Linked DNA regions of Homo sapiens: region 1 is linked to region 2. The links are contacts of gene promoters, found by promoter capture Hi-C in human tissues and cell types (Jung and others, 2019). All regions are on one chromosome and are shown on one strand. The core of a region is centred on a gene start or on the middle of the fragment in contact, and the rest is flanking DNA. Distances in the headings are between cores, read along the strand shown.

Region 1 (5,759 bases), core at 40-2,539, 64 kb after region 2:
TATACTACATGCCTCAGTTATAAATAGCATTTTCATAGTCATGAAGAAATATGAACACTGAATATTTACTTAACCAAAATTACAATATAATTACATAATTATGTTAGGTACATATAGCAAAAGGATGTGTGTGTGTATGTAGTATGTATGATGTTTGTGGTGTGTGTGTGGTATGTGTATGGTGTGTGTATGGTGTGAGGTGTGTGCAGTGTGTCTGGCGTTTATGGTGTGTATGTGTGTTGTGTACAGTGTGGTGTGTACGTGGTATGTGGTGCGTATGCTGTGTCTGTGTGTTGTGCATCGTGTCTGTGGTGTATGTGGTGTGTGTGTGCATAGTGTATATATGGGATGTGTGTATATGTGGCATGTGTGTGGTGTGTGTTTTGATGTTGATGGTGCATTAAAAGGAGTTAAATCCTAATATTCCCAGGTGGGAAGTCCATAGGTGTGTTAGTCGTTCTCACATTGCTGTAATACCTGAGACTGGGTAATGTAATAATGAACTATGTAATCAGCTACAGAGTTGAGGGTGTGGAGCTCACCCAGGACAGCTGAGCTACTGGTGTAAAATGAATGGTATTTTTAAAAATGGCTATTTGTAGAATTTACAGAACTAGGACACCCCAACCAAGGGTTGATAAGAAAGGACCCCAGGGCTCTGTCTCAGCTCTCCTGGCCACATCTGGAGGACATGGGCTTCTCCAAGGTCTCACACTTTCAGGAAGTGTTGATGAAGGATATGGAGAGACCTGAAGCTCTGGGCGCTGCGTAGTCTGAGAAGAGAAGCTTCGGGAACGTGGGAACTGAGTGCAGATACCGGAGGGCTGTCATCCAACAGAGGGAGTAGGTGACGACTGGCCTAGGGAGGGACCCTTATCAAGGCTGCATTTGTTGATTGCCTTCTTTGTGTGGGGCACTGCTGTGACTGCATTAAATTTCCATTTACCTAAATCCAATTTTGTGCGCTTGTTTTCTACTCTTGTAGGAAAGACAACAGCGACAACCTCAAGCCAGTAATCTAGTCAAAGGAGCAATTCCCAAGGCACGACATGTGGGGAATTCACATTCATTGGCACTACAGTGATTGCTGATAACGCCAACTTAATGCCTGGCCAACAGCATGGATCCTGACCTCCACTATTCTTGTGTGTTTAGAGAACCACAAAAAAGTGCAGTGTTTTCATTTTTGTTGCTTGTTTCGCAGGTCTACATAATCTACTTTTTAAAGTCAAAAACGGTCTTAGTGATGCACAATAAAAGTATAAACTCAGTATAGTGCATAGTATCTTTTTCATATACGTATGAATATATATACACTTTTACACATGTATGCATATGTATCATATGGGTCAAAACACTAGATGGAATGGAATTTTTTTAATTGAAATATTTTCTGGTTATTAAGCATATCAGCTACCTTTAAAGTATTAATTTTACTGTATTTATATTAATTATTGAAGCTTGAACTTCAGAATAGTGGAGGATAAAAGTTAAACACTGCAAAAAGATTTCTCCTTTATTACTTCTTCAAATCAGAGAAAAGACATTTAAAGAGAAAACAGGAAGTACCTTCCCCACTCCACATAACTTATGAAGTAAGCAGCTAATTGATCATACCATAAAGAGGCACCAAATAAAATCTGTGTGTCTCAAAACAGGAGCACTGCTTCTGTGAAATCAGTTAAAGTAAATACCCATATTGGTCATGCATTGAAACATATATTTTCCTAAGTGAATTCTCCATAATTCTGAAAATCAGTGAAAACATCATCTCATGTTACTTTAATCTACACAAAACCAAGCAGCGCATATGACTCTCCATGTTTCAGGGCATACACATCCCTTTCCACCAGGGATCAATGTGCCCTATGGGAAGCAACTTCTTGCCTTTTAAACCAGATTCAGTAAACAAAAATTGTTTTGTATAGCTGACACAGGATCACATCAATTGCACGAAAAAGATCAGTCTGTGGAAGGAAGGTTACAAAGTCAAACGAGGCACGTTAAGGAGGCCTAACCCATCACATTGGATGTTCTGCTGTTCTGTTTTTCGGGTCAGAAATACAGGTACTAGGACTCCCTGAATCCAGCAGGTGTTAGAACAGAGGAAGGCAGAGGGCAACCTCCTGCAAAACATCTACCCTTGCCAGTTTCTAATCCAGGGTCCAGGGGCTGGAGCATCCGGGCTCCCCGTGCTTGCGCTTGGAAGCAGAAACGCCTTCAACCCTCACTTCTCACAGGACCTCCGACCCACCTACCTGAGGCTCAGCCCCAGAGCCGGCGGGTGGACGGAGCGAGATCGCGCCCTGGAACACGGAGCTGGCGAGAAGGAGAAAAGCCCAGCTGGCGGCGTAGGGGCGAGGGTCCTGCCTTTCCCGGCGGCCTCGCCCTGGCCATCCTGGCCCTGCGGGAAGGGGTCAGCCCACCCGAGCCTCGTCCACCCCTCGTCCACCCCTCCGCCTCCCGCCCCGGCACCACGCCGCGCCCGCGTCCCCGCCCAGTGCCCGCGCCTTTGCGGGCCCCGGTCCTGCGGGGCCCCTCGCGCACTCCAGAAGCATCAGTATCCTCCGGGCGGCCACGGGCCAGCTGCGGCTCCCACCCTGGCGACCCTGGATTGCTCTCCCCATTCTCAGCCTCACCCCCCACTCCTTCCACCCCATATTTTGCCGCCTCGAAGGACATGAACCATCTGCTGGCTGAAGGCGCTTGGACCTGAAACCAGCGACAGGTTTTGGCAGCTGCACGCTCACTCCCAGGGAGGCGAGGGCGCCCGGCGAAGTGTGGGGTCTGCCGCCCCCTGCCGGCTTGGCTGACGTTCGCTTCTGTTTCCACGCTGCCCAGCAGTGTTCCAGGTGGAACATTTCAAAGGCAAGGCTGAGAATAAATGCTGTTTACAAATTCCAGAAAAGAAAAAAAAATGTTGCTCTTCTCTTTAGTAAAAGGTTTTCCCAGACAAGCCAGCACTTCTGTGGGTTGTATTTAAATCTTAAGTACATGAGAGCTGTTGCCTGCAGGCGCTGGTATTGCCCAAGGAGGGTAGTTTCAGGACAAAGTCTCTGAAAACTCCAGGCTCTTGGACGAAGCAACCTTTCCACATTATGTAGCATAATCTACCAGGTCCTGCGATTTACCCATCGTGCAAAAGGAGCAAGTCTCTTTAAAACAGGGCTTTCAGAGAGTCTTTTCAGGAGAAAAAAAATGTTGGAAGAACAGATTCGTTGCCTATTTGTTGTTGACTTTGCATCTAAACTGATCCCCTTAAAAGTATTTATGGGTATGAACGATAAATAATGAAAGGGATCAAAATAGGAATGTTTCATTTACTTTAACCTGGCCCATGCAGTGCACTTCAGGCCCTAGACTCTGGTTTGGACTCTGCGATTTCTACCTTCCTTGGCTTTGTTTGCTTCACTGATCAGAGTTCTGTGAATACAGTAGGTGCTCGATAAATGCTTATTCTGGTTATTGCCATTGATGCCTGTGGCAGTAACTGCAGACCGGCAGGCTCCGGCAGCAACGAGGCGTGGGGCTGGAGGGCCTGGCTCTGGCATCCAACCCTGCTCCATCTGACACACAAGCGGTGTGACTCTGGGGAAGCTATGAACCTCTGCGGAACTCTCTATTAGTAAGATGAGAGTGGTAGTAATAGCACCTCCCTCATAGGGTCAGAGTGAGGAATAAATGAAATAACCTGTGTAAAGAACCTAGTGTGGTGCCTAGTATTGTGTAAACTACTCAGGGGACAGGGGACTAGTATCCAGAATATACAAGGAACTCAAACATCTCCAGAGCAAAAAACCAACCCAATTAAAATATGGGCAAATGATCTGAATTATTAAAAGAAGACATTACAAATCTGCAACAAGTGTATGAAAATGTGCTCAACACCACTAATCCTCAGGGAAATGCAAATCTAAACCACAATGAGCCATTGTCTCACCCCAGTAGGATGACTATTGTCAAAAAGACAAAAAATAACACATGCTGGTGAGGACGCAGAAAAAAAGGGAATTTTTCTACACAGTTGGTGGGAATTTAAACTACTACAGTAATTCTGGAGAACACTATGGAGGTTCCTCAAAAAACTACAAATAGAAGTACCTTATGATCCAGCAATCTCACTACTGGGCATTTATCCAACAGAATGGAAATCATTGTATCAAAGAGTCTGCAGCCCCAGGTTTATTGCAGCTCTGTTCACAATAGCCAAGATAAAGAATCAACCTAGTTGTGTGACTACACATGAATGGATAAAGAAAATAAGGTATATACATACCATGGAATACTATTCAGCCATAAAAAATAATGGAATCCTATCGTTTGCAGCAACATGGATGAAACTAGAGGACAGTATGTTAAGTAAGCCAAGAACAGAAAGGTAAACACTGCGTGATTCTCACTCATAATGTTGCCATAGGTGGCTATTAAGGTATTAGCAGGGCAGAAGAGGGCTTCCCCCTACCACTGCCCCAAACACACACCAGGAGTGTTGCCAACCATTAGGTGATGGTCAGGGTGGTTATTAACTGTCTGTCTAAAGTAATAATTGGTCACAGCTGGCACCAGAGAAAAGCAGTTTCCCAAGAGATAGAAAACACCTATCATCAGCAGCTTCCCGATAAGATCTCAGGAATTGGGCGAGTGGGGAGAAGGGACCCAAGACCTCGGAAGCATACCAATGTATAAAACCCCCAAGTCCAAAGGTCAAGGCGCACACTTGCTTTTCAAGTCACCCGCTTGGCCCTATTCCAAGTGTGCTTTCCTTCCTTTCATTCCTGCTCTAAAGCTTTTTAATAAACTTTCACTCCTGCTCTAAAAACTTGCCTCAATCTTTCCTTCTGCCTCATGCCCCTCAGTCAAATTCATTCTTCTGAGGAAGTAAGAATTGAGGTTGCTGCAGACCCATACGGATTTGCCGCCGGTAACAATATGTGGCAGCTAAAAAAGTTTATCTCAAAGAAGTAAAAAGTAGAACGGAGGACAGTAGAGGCCTGGAAGGGTGGGAAAAGGGGAAATAGGGAGAGCTTGGTTAAAGTCTACAAAATTACAGCTAGATAGCAGTAATATGTTCTAGTGTTCTATACCACTGTAGGATGAATATGGCTAACAATAATATATTGTAAAGTTTCAAGCAACTAGAAAGAGCATATTGAATGTTTCCAACACAAATGAGTGATAAACTTTGAGATGATTGATGGATATGCTAACTACCCCTCTTTGATCTCTATACATTATATATATTGAAATATCTCTATGTACTCTGTGAACATGTGCAATTATTATTTGTCAATAAATTTTTTTTATCTTGATCTCATAGAATTAGAGAGTAGAATGGTGGTTACTGGAGGGTGAGGAGGGTAGTCGGGAAGAGGAGAATGGAGAGAGGTTCGTCAGTGGGTACAAAGATCCAATTAGATTGAAAGAATAAGTTCTGGTGTTCTATTACACACTAGGGTGACTATAGCTAATAATTCTGTGTTGTACATTTCAAGATAACTAGAAGAGAGGATTTGGAATCTTCTAACTAAGAAGAAAGGATAAATGTTTAAAGTGAGGGGTATGCTAATCACCCTGATTTGATCCTTACACAACGTATCCATGCATTGAAACATCACACTGTACCCCATAAATATGTACAATTATTATGTGACAATTATAAATAAAACTTCTAAAAGGAGCTTAGTACAGTGCCTAGTATATAGTGATTAACCAATCAAGTATAGCCATTATTATTTATTATTCCTTCCTCCCAGTAGTAA
Region 2 (5,570 bases), core at 1,027-3,526:
CAGATGTATTTTCTCCTTACGAACATTTCCTTTTCTCTAGCTTACTTTATTGTAAGAATACAGTATATCATACATATAACATACAAAATACATGTTATTAACTGTTGCTGGTCAACAGCAGGCTGTTAGTAGTTAAGTTTTTGAGAGTCAGAGTTATACCTGGATTTTCTACTGTGTATGGTCAGTGTGCCAACCCCTGAAATTGATCAAGGGTCAACTGTAATCCTAAAAGAATCTAATACAATATTGTAAACAGTAAGTGGTCAATAAATAAGGAATTGAACTAATAAGAATACATAAATCCCAGAATATGTGCAACCTGATCATAGTACACAGAGATCTCTCTATATATCTCTTTTCTTAGTTCATGCTGTTCTTTCAGGTAGAAAGCGCCTTATTTTGAATTAGTTGTCTTTAGAGCAAAAATCCCTCCAAGAGTGCTGTGTGGTTTCCTATGCACAACCTGGAATAGTCCATTGCTTCATGCCTACCCTGGACATGAAGGGCCATGCCGCAGCGGAAGTCTCTATGCACCCACCCCCGTCTATACCTGAGCAACACATTCCTCTTTGCTGCTCTCTTACAGGCTACAGAGTGCGGTGGCGCCAGCACAGAGCTCTGCTCAACGTCCCTCTGTGCTTTCACGATGCTGATGGATTATGAAGGTAGGGAAGAATGTACAGCCAGGAGGCCATTAGGAGGGCAACTAATTTATAAAATCACATTTGTAGAATTTAATGCATCCAACAACTACCAGGGGAAAGGTGGGCAAAAGCTATACCAACACCACCCAAGTCAAAACCAAAACAACAGGAAAAGAAAATTATGTGGATGTAGAATTTCTGATAACATCATTCCCAAGGTGCCTTATCCAAGAGGAACTGCTACAATAATATTTTAAGTGGAAATAAATACATGCTGGAAGCATTATATATTAGTAGAGTATTTTTTTTTCCCAGAGTACTTTCTCAAGCACATCAACATGAGCCCCCTAAGAGACATTTCACATTAAAAATAAAATGTCTGCCCACTGCTGGTTTCTCAATCTGCCTCCACCTTCTGTCCCCTTTAATGAACTGGGCCATGAGGTGAGTCAGAGAGGATAAAGGGAGTGGTAAGAATTTGAGGAGAGAAGAGAGTGAGGCTAAAATAGGAAATCAGGAAAAGCGATTCGGTCCCCCTGTCCCTCACATGGGGCCACCCTCTTGTTGCCCAGTGTGGCTTCTTCTTGAGGGTTCTGCATGGTTCCTCAATCCCAGGGAATTCCGCAGGACATTCCACCCAAGACCATTGGGCTCCCACCTCTACTCTTTTGCCAGTTAATGAATAGGCAGGAATTTCACTGCCTGGAAAGAGGAACAATGCTTTCTGGTCCTTATTTCACATCTAAAATAGAGAGGTCAATTGATTTATTCCTAAATATCTTTGAACACTAAAATAGAAGTTTTACAGCATATATACTACCTGGTTGCTCTAGACTTAAGCCAGGGAAAAGTACAGATTCAACATTTAAAATTGAGATAGACGCTTTCCACTTAATGCTACCAGTCTTGCTTTATTTCATGAGAATGAGAATATAATAATATGGCATACGTTCATTTGGGGGAAAGATTGATGTCTTATAACATAATTTATAATTACAGAAAACATGTGAGTTCACTGGGAATAAATAAATTTTGAAGATAATAAGATACTTTCACTTATGTCGTAATTTCTATGTCATTTGGTGTAGGATGTAGAGATATTAACGTTTACACCTAACTTAAGTTTGTCATCTAAGACCTGAAGGGGTTTTGTCTATCAGCTGCACCCCTGGGTAGAGACACAACCTTGGGGAAGGCCTCAGCCCCATCCCTCGTACAGCAGGAATGAGAACAGCCCTGCCTGTTGGGAAGCTTGAGGGAGGCTATGGACGTGCAGCGCTTGGCAGAGGGTCTCGTCATGGAAGGTTCCAGCAAATGTGAGATACTTTTATGATTTCATTTTCTCCAAAAGAAAGGGAATAAGAGAAGAGGGGAGGAAATAAGACTAATTGCGAGAGATAAAGTACAAGGGTGAGGGAAGGAATAAGGAGACATGACGGCAGCGTGGAGCAGCCGAGGGGGGAGATTGCTTTCACCACTTCCCAGCATCTATTGCAGATTCCACCCTCAAACATGTTGTAAGGACTCTTTATTCAAGGTAATGTTTGAACCCTGCTGAGCCAGTGGCATGGGTCTCTGAGAGAATCATTAACTTAATTTGACTATCTGGTTTGTGGATGCGTTTACTCTCATGTAAGTCAACAACATCCTGGGATTGGGACCCACTTTCTGGGCACTGCTGGCCAGTCCCAAAATGGAACATAAGGAAGTGGTTCTTCTACTTCTTTTATTTCTGAAATCAGGTAAGACATAGTTTTTTTAAATTATAAGAATTATTTTTTCTCCCACAATGTAGTAAAAATACATATGCCATGGCTTTATGTGCAATTCATTTAATTTTTGATTCATGAAACTTCCAGTTGAAAATCTTGTATAAGATTGAGGAATTCTTCAAGAAATAAGTTTAAGTTTCCTGTGAAGATTGTCAGGGTGCTGGAATGAATGGGCAGAGAAAATAATGGGTGATTTTTCAAATCTAAATGAGTGCACCCACATAATGGCCAGTCTAATTGAAAAAGAGCCAATGTAGCTAATTATGCAAAGGACGGCTAAGCTCTTTGCCTGGTTCTCAGTTTGACTAATTTATATCATCTCTGTTACGGTGTCATGCTCCCCTCACTTGCAAGTTAAAACAGTGAAATATCTCTTTGAATATATTCCGTTCTCTCACCAGTTCATGGTGGCGGCAGGGTCGGGGACTCAGCATTTCTCCCTTTGTTATGGCCTGAGGAAGGCTTTCCATCAGTATACGTTTGCCTCTTATCCCCGGAAAAATCACACGCATCCATTTGCCAGATGCTGTGTGCAGATAGTGATCAACAAATACTCAGTTGCTTGGGTTAGGTCCCTACATTTTTACACATACATACATACCTGTGTGTGAATGTGAGTGTGAGTGTGTATCCTTTACAAATACTAGCTTATTTAGCTCGTGGTATAGGTAGGGTAGCATATTCATCCTCATTTTATAAACAAAGAAATCAGACTTAGGAATATCATGTTATTTGCTCAGTGACCAAATTCTCAGATCTGGGAAATAAAGAAAACTGGATTTAAGCCAGGTTTCCCAGAAGGAATCTAGGGCTCTTCTCACTTTTCAGCTTTGTTTAAGCCTTTGAAAGAATATTCTAAACATGTCCTAGTACTTCTTTTTCTTTAAAAAAAAAAAAGCTTTATTGAGATATAATTAACATATAGAATTCACCCATTTAGGCATACAATCCAATGGATTTCAAGATATTGAGAGTTGTGCAGCCACCATCAGAATAAATTTTAAAACTATTCATACCCCCAAAAACGCACTCCACTCTCCTTAGCTGTTACCCCCAATCTGCAGCTTCTGGCAACCACTAATCTACTTTCTGTATTTATATCTTTGCCATTTTGAACATTTCATACAAACGGAATCATACGATTTGCTAGTAGTTCTTCATGTAAATAATGTACGCTTGAAATTCAATCTATAAATTACCAGATAAAATTTTACAAGTTGCACTTTAGAGTCAAATACATTTGAATTTAGTGGAAGCCATTCAAGGAGCTATCAAAGAAAATACAGAGCAGGAGAAAATTAAAGAAATTTTTGTAAGAAATTGGTGTATGTTGGGGGGTATGAATATTATATTTCAATGCATGGAAACTAGGACATAGATCACTATGAACTTATTCAGTGGGCTACACCCAAAGGCTAGATCAAACTTCTCTGCCACAGGATTAACATATGTTTTAACCCACCTGGTGGGCACATTCTCTCATAAGCTCTTTTGGAAAGCCAGGTTTTCTGTGGATGTATCATCTTTCCAGTGTGCTGCAATGCCCGGGGAGAGGGAAAAGTTTCTTTTACAGCCATGCTTAGTGGGAAGTGGAGAAACATCTTCCATTTCACAAATTAAGTCTTTTACACATGCAAATATGCATACACATTCACACACCACAGTGAGGAAGAAATTCTCACACCATTAATAAAATACATTTGCATCAGTAGCAATATACATCTGCATTTTGCCTATAATATAAATGTATTTTTCCACTAAAAGATTTGTTTGATGTTTCCTTGCCAGCAAATAAGCCCTATCAAATCCTATTGCCATATGAGTCCTAGAGGTGAATAAGAGAAGAAAAAATGGGGGAAAATTATTTCAAACTGAAAAGAGAAAAGTTTGATTCTGTTTTGGGATATTTCCTAGGGACATGAGCTGGGGAGGGGATCTCAGCAGCGATGCGCTATGAAGCATAGTAACATAACACAGAGAACTTAATTGAAGGGGGAAATAAATGGAAGTTTTCTTTTTTTGAATATCAGTTGTAGCCTGCTCTGCTATACTTCAAAAAAACTCTTCAGAAAGTTTAACTGAACTCACTGTAGGACACACTTTGTGGATTTATTGTGTGTTTTGAAGTCACACTGTGAGCTATATAGAATTAACCAAAACACAACTCTTCTTGAAAATGAGAGTTCAAGTTGGCAGAAAGTGCGGGGTAAAGACATGGATATGGGCCTAAAGCATCTATTTCTTTGTGATCTTTTGATATATCTCTCAAGTGCTTTTTAGTGGATTAGCTTTAGAATGCATCAGCCAACTCCTGCTCAATAATCCATTTTTCCAGCCCGGAATGTCTTAAATTGAGGAAGGACAAAGTCCCAGAGGTGGGGAGCAGGGGGACTTTGGCCGAGGACTTTGCATGAATCGATGAGCATGCATCCACCTCCCTGTCCTGCCCCTTGTGCTCTGTGTACCCTCAGGAGGTCAGGACAGGCCTTTCTGAGAATGAAAATCTGTTCATTTGCTTTCCTACTGGATACTTGTCATCAGCATACAAACCAATGCGCTCTGCAGTGTGTCATCTTTCAGAACCTCCCCTGACCGCATGTTCCCTGGAGGGCTCGCTGTCTTCAGAGCCAGGCTTGTCTCCTGCTGCAGCCTCCACTGCTCTCCTAGTCACTCTGTAACCCACCCCCTCTGCCTGCGGCCCCCACCACGCCCCTCAAAGTGGTCAAGGTTGTCCTGTTGTCTAATTCCATGGAGCTTGCCTGTCTTCATTTTATTAGCCTCTTTTGGCCTCTCACCCTTGTGCAAATCACTAGCATTCTGTGCCAAGGACGGAGCTGGCATCTCCAGGCTTGGAATAGAGCTACCAAAGCTCAGCCAGATGTCTGGAAGAGCCTCAGGACAAGGGGACACCCTGTAGCCTTGTGGTGGGAGCACAGCTGAGGCCCCCTTGGCCACCCTCTGCCACGACCAGGCAGAAAGCAGCTTTCGGACAGATTCGTTGTCTCAGATTTGATCTCAAAGAAAAACCAAGACCAGTATTTGTCCCAGGTCCTGCTTTTTTACAATTTCCTCCGAAATCCAGATACCTGTCAACACCTTGGAAAAACTGACTTCTCCCCAATTAGTAGTGTTGTGTGACTGTCATAAGCCCAGT

What was found. Contacts are between HindIII fragments. The study calls those that stand out against the background at their distance.
Region 1: a contact is called between a fragment that was not itself captured here and the fragment with the promoter of PLG in region 2, in 1 of the 25 tissues and cell types used here (liver).

What each region holds. Positions count from the first base shown.
Region 1 is chr6:160,764,775-160,770,533 of GRCh38, forward strand. No RefSeq gene overlaps it. Among named protein-coding and RNA genes, the nearest start is that of PLG, 65 kb to the left of the region's middle. RefSeq lists silencers at 2,270-2,379, 2,440-2,569. The HindIII fragment of the contact is 3,667 bases long and covers 1-3,123 here.
Region 2 is chr6:160,699,968-160,705,537 of GRCh38, forward strand. PLG (plasminogen) reads left to right here and starts at 2,277. Exons shown (of 19, transcript NM_000301.5): 1 at 2,277-2,386. The coding sequence starts at 2,338. The HindIII fragment of the contact is 7,159 bases long and covers 1-5,570 here.